Regions from separate parts of the Homo sapiens genome. Here region 2 is linked to region 1. The links are contacts of gene promoters, found by promoter capture Hi-C in human tissues and cell types (Jung and others, 2019). All regions are on one chromosome and are shown on one strand. The core of a region is centred on a gene start or on the middle of the fragment in contact, and the rest is flanking DNA. Distances in the headings are between cores, read along the strand shown.

Region 1 (6,121 bases), core at 149-2,648:
CAAGTAAAAATCTAAGGTAAAATTTACTAAGTGCATAATGGAGCAGACTGTAGATGGATGTAAGGTAACTCATGAGAATGGCACATGAACAGGTGAAATTCAGGAAGCCAATCCAAGTGTGCCCGGAGGGAAGTGGTTCTCTGAATCTGCCCTCTTGACAACACAGCTCATTCCATCCTCCTGCATTTTACATCAGGCACAGAAGGATCCACATAAGAGAGATTCACACCCACCCACAATTGCCCTAGAGAAGGAAGGGGAGAGACAGAGAGCCTTTACTTATGTACCACGGAGCTTCAGAGTTAAGCCAGGTGCCCCTGCCTATCTCTACGTGGAGAACAATTGAACATGGGTGGAAGTAGCAGGCTCCTAGGAGCCGGGCCCTGGTGGGTGGCAGTATACGTGCATGTGTTGGTGGTCACTGAGACTTGGGTGGCCTGATTCTGTATTGTGCATGATTTGCTTTTCTGGCCACTAATAGGTCTCACGGTGAAGACAGCAGAACCAGATGGAGTAGGGGCTCAAGGAACAGGTAGCCACACCAACACTTCCCAGGAGTTCAGCCCTTTACAGGCCACAGAGCAACAATATTGTTGAATGTCAGAGTGAAACAGACCGCAGCCACCAAGTGATCGAAGTCTCTCATTTTCCAGCTGAAAAACAGGAATACAGAGAGAGAGTCTTCTGGTCAAGGTAGCAGCACTGACTGGTAACTGAAGTTGGTCGGATCAGTTAAAGCCTCCTTTTCCGGAGTTCTGTTACGATATATGACTCTCTACGCCAGTTCCCTAGTAGGGACTCATGACTGACTGTCTCCCTGGCAATGACAGAAACTCCAATCCTATTCGACTCATTTAATGATTTGGTATAGGATTCAGAGGCGCACGCGGCGAAGGCTGAGCAAGGGCTGTCTGTGGTTAAGCTCATCACAGGATGAGGCCATGCCCCACGCAACTCAGTCAGAGCTGGGCTTGCGATGATGCACCCAGAGTAGTTGTTTTGGGTGGGGGCTGCGAGGAACTCATAAAAGATGTAAGAGGAGGAGAAAGTTGGCAAGAAGTGGATGCTTTCATCTGCAGAGAAAGGCCCCTGAGCCCTAAAAAAACTGCCCTCCTCCCCACTCCCCCCTCCTCCCCCCGACACACAAAAAAGTTCACCCACTACACCTGCCTTCCCCAGATGGGCTCCCTGCGCAACGCCTCCTCGTCCTCCGAGATTTTCCAATGGTGGCGCAAGCTCCTCCCTCGCCCGAGCTGGGCGCCGTCCTAGAGCCAAGCGCCCGCTAGAGCCGAGACTAGGGGGCGGTGAGGAGTGGGACCCGCTCGCGGCCATTGGTTGTGCGGCCAGGAGGGGCGGAGGGACGACGCGCGGGCTGTGCGGGGCCGGCAGCCCGGATCCACTCCCGCTGCGCCTGCTGTCCGCCGTGCGCCCAGACTGCGCGCCGCGCCGCTGCGCCCAACATTCCCGAGGACGGCTTCGCGGGCGCGTATCGTCCAGACCGGAGCACCGCCCCACCGCTAGCGCAGGAGACCTGCCGGGGAAGTCGCGTGTCCTGACCTGCAGGTCAGTGAGGGAAACTTGCAGGGTCCCGAGCTCTGGGGGTGAACTTGCCCTACGCGGAGAGCGCCCCACTCCTTGCCTGGGGCGGCCTCGGGTCCTGGAGGCGAGCCGCCTCCCAGACTCTCCCCCGAGATCTGGGCTCCCGGAGATGTGGCTCCTTTCTGAGAAACACCCCCAAATCTATCCCTTTTGAGGTGTCCTTACTGTCCCGAGAAGCAATCGCAGCCCGGCTCTCCGAGTCTTGGGGTGACTCCACGGGCTGCAGGAGGAGCCGCGAGGGGCCCTGAGTGCAATGTCCTTGGCCCCGTGTTGACCTGCCTCGGTCCCAGACACTGGGAACCGGGAAGGTCTACCCTCGCTCTGCAAGGTGGATTCCTCCATGCAAGTGTAGACAGTTCTACACTTTGCAGAGTGTGTCTAGGTGCCTTCTGTTTGCTTTTGCCTTTGTGGTGTGTGGAGGGTCATTCTTGGGTTTGTTTTGCTCCTGTCTGATTTTCTAGGGTCATTTGCGTCCCTTCTCGGGAACGGGGACTCGCCATGCGCACACTGACAGCTGGCTTTGCACCTGCTAAGGCGCTGGAGAGTCTTTTCGCCCGTCTTAGGGTGGCCCTAAATCCGGGGAAGTTTTATGTGGCGCTGAACACTTGCGTTTCCCAGGGGCGTTTTCCCTAGCTCCCGGAAACCCAGTAGGTAACTGCGCCAGCGACCCTTCCCCTCTTCCCGGGTCTGATGAGACACTGGAATCCTGCCTTTCCCTGTCGAGGTGTGCGAATGATGGGCAAATTGCTTCAGTTCTGATTTAGGAAAGGGATATGTAATGTGCCCTCCTCCAGGGAGCAGAGGGATTCATTCACAGAAATATCTTGTTGAGGACCAGGATTGGGGCTATGCCTGCCCGCTTTCCTCCACCAGATGCCCGGGCTCCATCGGACTTGGGTTTGATCTCAGACTCTAGAGATGGGGTCTGTTTGTTAGTGTCCTTCATTTCCTCTCCCTGTTAATTTTTCTTCGGAAAATGTTCTGCTAAAGTAAGTACTTCAGTGTTCTTTGTGGTAAATGATGGGCTCCGATGTCTAGAGGACGTCTCAAAGCCATCGCATTTGGTACCGTCTGCACTACAGGTGCAAAGGGCGGGGAAACTGACAGCGTTACTGTCCTGGGGCGGACCCGCGGGACTACTCCCTAAGACGTTTCTCCTAGGTGCCTTCTCCTAGGTGCTTCCAGGATTCATTGTTCAGACAACAGCCTGTCAACAGGAAAAGAGGCACAAGTGACAGTCTTTTCTTAAAGGGTTTGTCTCTTAATGCAGTCTTGCGGAGCCCCATGCACCCTCTGAAAAAAACAATATTTAATTTGCTGAATTATACAACTAGTCTGGGTGTCTCAGCTTATTTGTGATCATGCCCATAGAGGTTCTTAAATATCTTTTTTGTAACTAAATTCTCTTCATTTTACTAAGTAGAGTAGTGTCTTTTCCCCCGCCACCACCACACTCAGAACACCGTTTTTAGTTGATCTGTAAAGCAAATTGCCTTTTGGAGGGCTTGTGAGTGAGGCTGCCTGGTCTCAGAGCCTCCCTCAGCCCATGCCCTAGTCACCTTTAAATGCTGGACATCGTAGGGCCGCCGAAGCCTCTGCCAACCTCAGAAGTAATCTGGAAATATTGAGATCCAGCACGTGGGTGGGATATTCCATTTTTGTGTTTTGGCTTTGAGGGGCTTATTATTTTTGATTCCTCTATATAAGGCAAAGTGCTTTGAAGAGCTGAACGCACACATTTATTGTTCTCATTAAAGAAACCTGTTGTAAGGTAAGATTGAGTCCATTCTCCCTTGCTGTTAGTTCGTTCAGTTCAACAGATTTTACTAGATGTCTACGATTTGGACAAGCACATCAGGGGTTAAGATATAAATAACTGTGTGATTGCATGTGGCATCAAATCCACGAGAGAGTTTATTTGCAGGTTTCCTGGGTTTCTTTTTCTTTTTTCTTGTTCTTTTTTAGTGAGGGCAGATGAAGAATGACAGAGCTGATTTGTAAGAATGACCAACCATACTAACCTTTAAGCAAACTTGGAGTTATACGTTCATTATAAAAAAGAAAGACTAACTCATCACAGGCAAAATTCTGATTCAGCCTCTATACTAGATAAAGTCTGAGCTCATTTGATGATCGTTCTTCTCTGGCTTACTCTTCTCCCTATACTTATATTACAACATTTTTGGGGGGTCCTTTTTTTGTTTAAAGTTTGTACAGTTTGTACGAGCATTTTTATACTTAATTAGTTATAATGAAGAAGTGAAAAATAAAATTATGGCTGAATTTTTGTGTTTTGTTCATCTGAGTTTTTAAAGTAGTAATTTAAGAATCTGAAAAAATACATTTCTGAATGGCCCTGGATGCCAGGCACTGTGTAGGTCCCACTTGCCTGGCTCATGGTACCCATAAGCCATTCAGTAAATATTTGTTAAATGAAACTAAAAGCCAAAAAGTAGTGCCACAGAAGAATGTTGTTTTCTTCAAATATCTACTTGTGGAGGCTATTATATTATATTAGTATATTAATACAAAGTATTATAGACCTAATTTTTATAGATTTCATGATTGTTTATAATGAGAGCTAAAAATAATAATAATAAAGGCTTTAAATTAGTTAATGGAATAGGGAAGCCAACAAGGAAGAAGTTCAAGCTTTAAGCCCACGAGTTGGCAGGATTCCTTTTAGCCAACATGTGTGCCTAGAGGATTCAAGCCAGAGGCTTAGATGAAGATGCCCTTGGTATGCATATGTGGCCCAACCTTTGATTTAGAATTCAGGAAGTCCATCTGTGCATTCACGGGCCATTTCAGGAGCCGGGCAACAGTCTACTGGGCCAAATTCTGTGGTCCCTTCTGTTCTGATTCTGATTTGTGGCAGATGTATCCCTAGGATACAACGTCTTCATGCTCAGTCTCATGACATAAAATGCGTCCTTCACGAGTTCCTTATGGATATAGGAAATAGTCATTATTTAGCCTTTACTAACTTTGGAAATTTTTTTGGAAAAAGAAAAAAAAGATAAAAGATGTCTGAGCCGTCAAACAGCCGTACACACTTTAACATATCTCTAAGCATGAAGTAGCGTAATCCAGCCAAAACAGTGCCAATGACAAACCTCCACATTTCCATCAGAAATGGGGTACATCACTAATATTTTCTGAGTTCCTAACTTTTAAATTCCCAACTATTAAGCTATATTAAGACAGGAAATTAGTCAGTCTAGGTCTACAATTTGTACTTTGATTCTTGATGTTGATATTGTTAATCTGGAAGGGTCTGGAAAATGTAAGCCTCTAATAATTGTTAAAAGGGTCACTTAAGAAGGTAACAGACCTGAATCCAACTTCTGATGGGAAGCAGAAGGATAGGTGGCTATAAGAATCAGTTTCAAATTAAGAGAGACTGGAAGATGACTGAAACCACAGTTAAAACACTAATTAACTTCATTCAGGGAACATTCAACGTATAGATTCACTTCCCAGGGGAGGCCAATATAGCAGCTTTCCTGGTTAACTTGCTAGGGTAGTCTGGTGCTGATTAGAAGTACCTGGTAATCTATCAACTGTTGCCAGTTAAACTGGCTTGGTCCTTATTCACCTTCAATTTCCTTGTGACCAGGATTATATCAGAGGGATATACTATTCTCATTTCTTAAGCAGAACATTGACAACATCCTGTAAAATGCAATGCTACCTCCAAGTACATTTAACCCCTGTTAGGAAGATTGACTTTCTGGCATCAGCCTGAGAGTCAAACTTTGAAAAAAAAATGGTAGAAATGAACCATTTCAAAGGTTTGTGTTAAGTATAGACAGTACAGAAAAAGAGGGGAGAAGGAGGAGCAGGAAGAGAAAAAACAAGTCCTGGGCTTAAAAACCAGCAGTATTTTCATGGCATATGCTATAATCAAATTTTATTTCTATTTCTTAATGAAAATACCTTTATTATTTTTTCTGATGTCAATACACATTCTTTTTGTCAAAATATAGATACAGAAATGCACAAAATAGAATGTTAACATGCCCCCATAATACTACCCTCTAACAAAAACATATGTTAACAGCTTGGTATATAACCTCTTGTTTTGTTTTGTTGTTTTTGCATCTAAAATATATGTGTGTATAATAGTAGTAGCAGTAGTAGTTGTTGTTTTACAAAAAATGGAATCATAGTATACACTATCATGAAGGTTACTTTCTTGACTTAGTCATAGATGTTCAGCATCTTTTCATGTTAGAAAATACGGTCCTTTTTCACAGGGAGGGGAACAACACACACTGGGGCCTGTTGGGGTGGGGTGGTGGGAGGGAGCATCAGGAAAAATTAGCTAATGCATGCTGGGCTTAATACCTATGTGATGGGATGATAGGTGCAACCAACCACCATGGCACATGTTTACTTATGTAACAAACCTACACGTCCTGCACATGTATCCTGGAACTTAAAATAAAATAAAATTTATATATATATATATAAAATATAGTCCTTTTTAATATAAGAGGATCAAGAGACTCCACTGTGT
Region 2 (5,817 bases), core at 2,828-5,327, 61 kb after region 1:
AGTGAGGAAACAGAGGCAACGAAAGATGACTGTCAGTCACTTGTGTAGGGTCATCTAGCTGGGAAATGGTGAACAAAGCCAAAATTCAAACCAGTCTGTCTCCCCAGCAGTGGTACTTAGCTCTGTCTGTGAATCAGAATCACTGACGAACTATATAAACAATGATGCCTGGGTCCTAGCCCCAGAGATTCTGATGCCATTGGTCTCGTATATCCCGATTTGCTAAAGCTCCCCAGCTGTATCAGTAATCTGTTGCTGCAAAATGAATTACCACAGACTTAATGGATTAAAATAATGGCAGATCTACTATCCAACAGTTTTTGTGGGCTAGGAATCTGAGCACAGCCTAATAGAGTCCTCTGCACAAGGCTGTGATTCAATTGTCAGCCAGGGCTGTGGTCTCATCAGAGATTTCGTAGTGAAACGATCTTTGTTTAAGCTCCCTCAGGGACTAAGTTCTCCATTTCCTTCATGGCCATCAGCACTCTTTACTCCTGGAAGCTGCCCACAGTTCCCTTAAGAAGGAGTCTTATACAACACAATGTAATCATAGAAGTGATTCATGTCAACTTCACCATAAAATGTAACCTAACTAAGGGAGTGACATCTCAATGCCTTTTCCATATTCCACTGGGCATGACTCATTAGGGGTCACCTTAGAGTGTATTTGTCGCACAGGTGATTTTAATGCACCATCAAGATTGAGAATCACAGCTCTAAAGCATTTTGCTCTATTTCTTTTCCACTAGAAATAGTGCAAATTTGAAATTCATAGCTTTTACATTTTTTTCTTACCACTCAATTTTAAATGGCATGGAAAATGAACAGAAAAGAAAAATGCTGTCCTCTCTAGTTATGATTACATACATGAAATTGTCACTATTCAACAATTTTTGACCTACAAAAACAGTAGTCTTATATGGTTCAATAGGATAATAATATTACTTTTCCCTGATAAACTATGTGCCTGAAAAATGCCTAGATGTGGTTACAGGTTCAGGTAGAAAAAATTAGAGGCAACTTATTCTCAACTACTGGCATAATTTTAGCAATTCCACAGCAAATCTAAAACATCTGACATTCTGTCTATAAAATATAGTCACATTTTCCAAATGGATTTCAGTAATACTGGAAAGCTTAGAAAATACAACTATTCTTTTATGAATCGCCAACACTTTTCCGTAGAAACAAAATTTAAATGATTTTCAGTTTGAGATATTTACAAAGGTAATATTATGGGTTAAGAACTGCTTTCGCAGAAATGAGAAAAAATGGCAAAAATAAGTCTCAGTGTTGTCTAAGAAGAAAACGTAAATTTAGACTGAGCATTTTCATTATGAAGTACTCAACCACATCTGCTGTGAAAATTCTCTGGGGTGGGTAGGCTCTAACTTCCTGGGGGTAAGCACTGGCTATTGCTGTCTGGGGGAAGCTGAATTCGAAGACAGTGACTCTAATTTACCTACGTGGCAATTTGCCTATTCAAAATGGTCTCCCAGAATTTCTCCCAGGAAGAATTAAAAGCAGTGAATTCACCACTCCTGGACCCAACTGAAATATCAGAATCAGTGGGTATGTTATGAGTTCAATTTCAAAGCAGAAAAGCCTTATTTTGGAAATGTGACTATTTTAGGGGCATTAAAAGAGAAATCTAAGAATGTTTTCTTTGCCTAGTGAAATGTGCAACTTCCTATAAAAATATCCCAGGCCCAGGCCTTCAGTTTTCTCACGCAAGGACACCTGGCCTTTGGAGAGGTTATGGTACTCTGGTGACAGAAGAGTCTATAACATAAAGAACCCAGTACTCTCTGGGGAGTTTTTTACTCTGAGAATACACAGCAGTTTTCTCCCACTTACAAATACTCTAAGACTGTGCCACCCAGCCTGGTAGCCACGAACCACATATGACTCTTAATCACCTGAAATGGGGCTAGTCTGAATGAAGATGCGCTAGAAAGGTAAAATACATACCAGAACATACCAGATTTCTAAGACTGTTCAAAAAAAGAAAAATATTTTATTAATAATGTCCATATCGTTAATATGTTAATATGATAATATCCTATCATTGATGATATATTAGGTTAAATAAAATATGTAACTAAAATTCATTTTACTAGTCTTTTTTTAACGTGGCCTCTAGAAAATTTAGAATTACATGTGCCATGCAGTGTATTTCTATTAGACATTGAAAACCCACTCTGTTCTTTACCAGTGAGGTCAGACTGAACCCAGCAGTCTTGCTGGCTCAGAAGGTCTGAGCTGGAACTTCAGATGTTGGATACTGAAATGAAGGGTTGCACCACAGAGCAACAGAAGGATTTATCCAGGTATCAGGCAAAGAAACAGACAAATAAATCACGAGGGCCAGGTTTCCATGAGTGTTTCAGGAGGAAAGTTGTGGTTCTGAAAGTGTGGTCTTTAGACCAGCAGCGTTGCTCATGGACTCACTGAGCATCACCATGGAACTGGTCGGACATGCCAATCCTCAGGCTTCATCCTCCACCGAGTCAGAAATTCTGGGGGTGGGAGCCAGTAGTGTGGGGTTTAACAAGCCCTCTAGGTGATTCTGATGCACCCTCAAATTTTAGAACCCCTGTTATAGCTCATTGAAAATCCCACCTGCCCTGTAGGTTGGAATTAGTTAACACTCCATTTCACAGGTGATATAGTTTGGATGTTTGTCCCCACTCAAGTCTCATGTTGAAATGTAGACCCTCATGTTGGAGGTGGGGCCTGGTGGGAAGTGTTTGGATCATGGGGGTGGATCCCTGATGAGTGGCTTAGGCCATCCCTTGGTGATAAGTGAGTTCACATGAGATCTGGTTGCTTAAAGGTGTGTGGCACCTCCCCCTACCTTTCTCTTGCTCCTGCTCTCACCATGTGACGTGCCTGCTCCCCCTTCACCTTCTGTCATGAGTACAAGCTCCCTGAGGCCTAATCAGAAGCAGATGGCAGTTCTATACTATCTGTACAGCCTGTGAACTGTGAGCCAATTAAACCTCTTTTCTTTATAAATTACCCAGTCTCGGATATTTCTTTTTTTTTTTTTTTTTTTTTCTGAGACAGAGTCTTGCTCTGTCGCCCAGGCTGGAGTGCAGTGGCGCCATCTCGGCTCACTGCAAGCTCCGCCTCCTGGGTTCACACCATTCTCCTGCCTCAGCCTCCCGAGTAGCTGGGACTACAGGTGCCCACCACCATGCCCGTCTAATTTTTTGTATTTTTAATAGAGACGGGGTTTCACCGTGTTAGCCAGGATGGTCTCTATCTCCTGACCTCGTGATCCACCTGCCTCGGCCTCCCAAAGTGCTGGGATTACAGGCGTGAGCCACCACACCCGGCCCAGGTATTTCTTTATAGCAATGCAAGAACAGCCAATACAACATGTGAGGAAACTGCGTGATAAAGAAAGAAATAAAGAAACTTGCCCTTATTACACAGCTATTAAGTGGCAAAGAAATCAAGCTTTCAACCCCAATGTTTATAATCCTAGAGTTGATACTCTTTATCAGATGTCAGCTCAATGAGAAAAACAAAAAGTCAGAGGAGAAACAAATCTAGATAAGTGGCTGTTAAACTTCATAGGGACTCTAACCAGAAAATTTGAGGACGCTCTAGTTGCCTCCCTGCAAAAATGCACTTTTATACAACACTGATACAATTTCAGGCTGCCCCTTGACCCATTGGAGGTTCTGCCTGCAGCCAATTTTATCATGCCTAATTGAGAGCTCCAGATTGGATGATGAGTCACTCTTCATAGTGAAGTAGTACTCCTTACACGAATAGGGTTTCATGTGTCTAATGCTTCCTACTAAACATATACTGAAGGAAAAAAGTTGATCTGAGATATTACAGATATTATTGTCTTAGCTGCCTTAACCAAATGCCGTAGACTGGGTGGCTTAACAACAGACACTTAGTCCTCACGGTTCTGGAGGCTGGAAGTCTGAGATCCTGGAGCCATCATGGTCAGGTTCTGGTGAAGGCTACCTGCCTGGTGGCAGATGGTACACTTCTTGCTGTGTCCTCACATGGCAGAGAGCAAGCTCTGAGGCCTCTTCCTCTTCTCATGAGGACATAATCCATCAGGAGGCCCACTTTTATGACCTCATCTAAACCTAAAGATCACCCAGAGCCCCCATCTCCAAATGCATTGGGGGTTAGAGCTTTGACATATGAATTTAGGGAGGTAAAATTCAGTCCATAGCAGATGGATGAGAACTATGTTTCTTCTGTTTGCTTAAGAAGGAACAAAATACTCATTAGTGGCTTATAACCCAACTGGCTCTAAGTGGAGGGAGGTACCAGACTGATTTTGAAATCTGCAAAGGGCAGGGTCTCCATGGGAAGGGAGGGCCACAGACATTGGTCACACTGAGCAGTAATGTCAAAGCACTGCTACAAAACAGGTAAAGGACCTTGCTAATACCGTCTGTCTTTCCTGTTTGAAGATGATACTAATAACAGTAATTTCTACCTGTGATAGCTTTGGGAGCAAATTAGGCTGAAAAAATTGACATATAATGAATGTCCCTTTGTGTTTGTAGTACAGAGGGTATTGGCAGAGCCTGAAGCTGTTTGATAAGCACAGCACAGCTCACTATTAACTTTAGCTGGAACATTTATAATTTAGTCTCAGACAATGGCGATCAAGTGCTTGGGGATGGGGATGAAGGCGAGGAGGCTAGTCTCTTTTTATCAAGCTGCAAAAAGAAAGCTAAACACTTATTCCTTCATAAAAGGAAAAAATAGGTTATCTTGAAATGTATTGGCAATTCTTTATTGTTTCTTTAATAAGTAATTCTACATTTAAGAAGATAGGAAAATATTTAAGGGTGACTACATACCCGCTGTTCATTTGGCATTTATTTAATGCCTTGAAAGAATAGGCATTCTCATATAAATGCGTTGAGTTCTGAAAGTTTGTACTTAGGCAAATAAAATTTTCCATAAAATTATAAATAATTTTATGTTATACATAATTATCTATATTCATATAAATACATTCATATATGTGTGTATATGTGGCTTTTTAAAAGTATTAAAATATATTTTAATTTTTTGCTTTTGGAATCATCCTGCAAACCTAACCATTATTTATGACATTTTTATGGGGGAAATGCAATTAATGTTAGAAACCTATATAAACCTACCCCTGGCAAAAGAGGAGACCTTCACTATCTTCTATGACTCTGTAAAGCAGAGAAGGGATTTTTGTTCTCCACCAGCTCTGGTGGAAGCAGTTTTCCTTTCCTCTGGCAGCTATTTTTGCAAGTGGAAAGGAATTCGCCCCCTGGTGGTGACCACATATTAACATGAAATATTTATAAATCGAGTTTTTATGTGTTACAAACTGCTTATGCATGCCTTCATTTGCCCACCCTGAGATTTTCTTGTAAATATTTATATGTCCCAAAGCTTTTAGGGCATCAGCTCGCATCCGAAAGAGGCTCTGCAAGTTTTCTGTGTAATTATTAGGGACATCAACTCTTTACTAACTATTGAACAAGAATAGATGACTTATTCTTGCAAGCTCCCAGGATATAATCATAAGCAAAAGTGTTTTTCTTCCAATATGAGTGCACCATCATAACTGTGCTCTAAGGTGGGTCCCAATAGTATTACTAAATTTCTAACAAACTAGTCCCTAAGTTGGAATTTCTGTAACACACACACACACACACACACACACACACACACACACGTTCTATCTATCAAATTTGATGGACAAGGTAAACTGATCTTGTCATTCCCCAGATACAATTTTCACTGCCCACAATTTTCACATTGCCTTTTTTATGGTCTTCCTTTAGCCGT

What was found. Contacts are between HindIII fragments. The study calls those that stand out against the background at their distance.
Region 2: a fragment that was not itself captured here is called in contact with the fragment with the promoter of SERTM1 in region 1 in 1 of the 25 tissues and cell types used here (hippocampus).

The regions. Positions count from the first base shown.
Region 1 is chr13:36,672,622-36,678,742 of GRCh38, forward strand. It overlaps SERTM1 (serine rich and transmembrane domain containing 1), which reads left to right and starts at 1,399. Exons shown (of 2, transcript NM_203451.3): 1 at 1,399-1,563. It overlaps LOC102723490 (a long non-coding RNA gene), which reads right to left. Exons shown (of 7, transcript XR_001749825.2): 7 at 2,724-2,806. The HindIII fragment of the contact is 7,784 bases long and covers 1-6,121 here.
Region 2 is chr13:36,731,032-36,736,848 of GRCh38, forward strand. All of the region lies in intron 3 of LOC102723490 (a long non-coding RNA gene), which reads right to left. Among named protein-coding and RNA genes, the nearest start is that of SERTM1, 60 kb to the left of the region's middle. The HindIII fragment of the contact is 3,554 bases long and covers 2,301-5,817 here.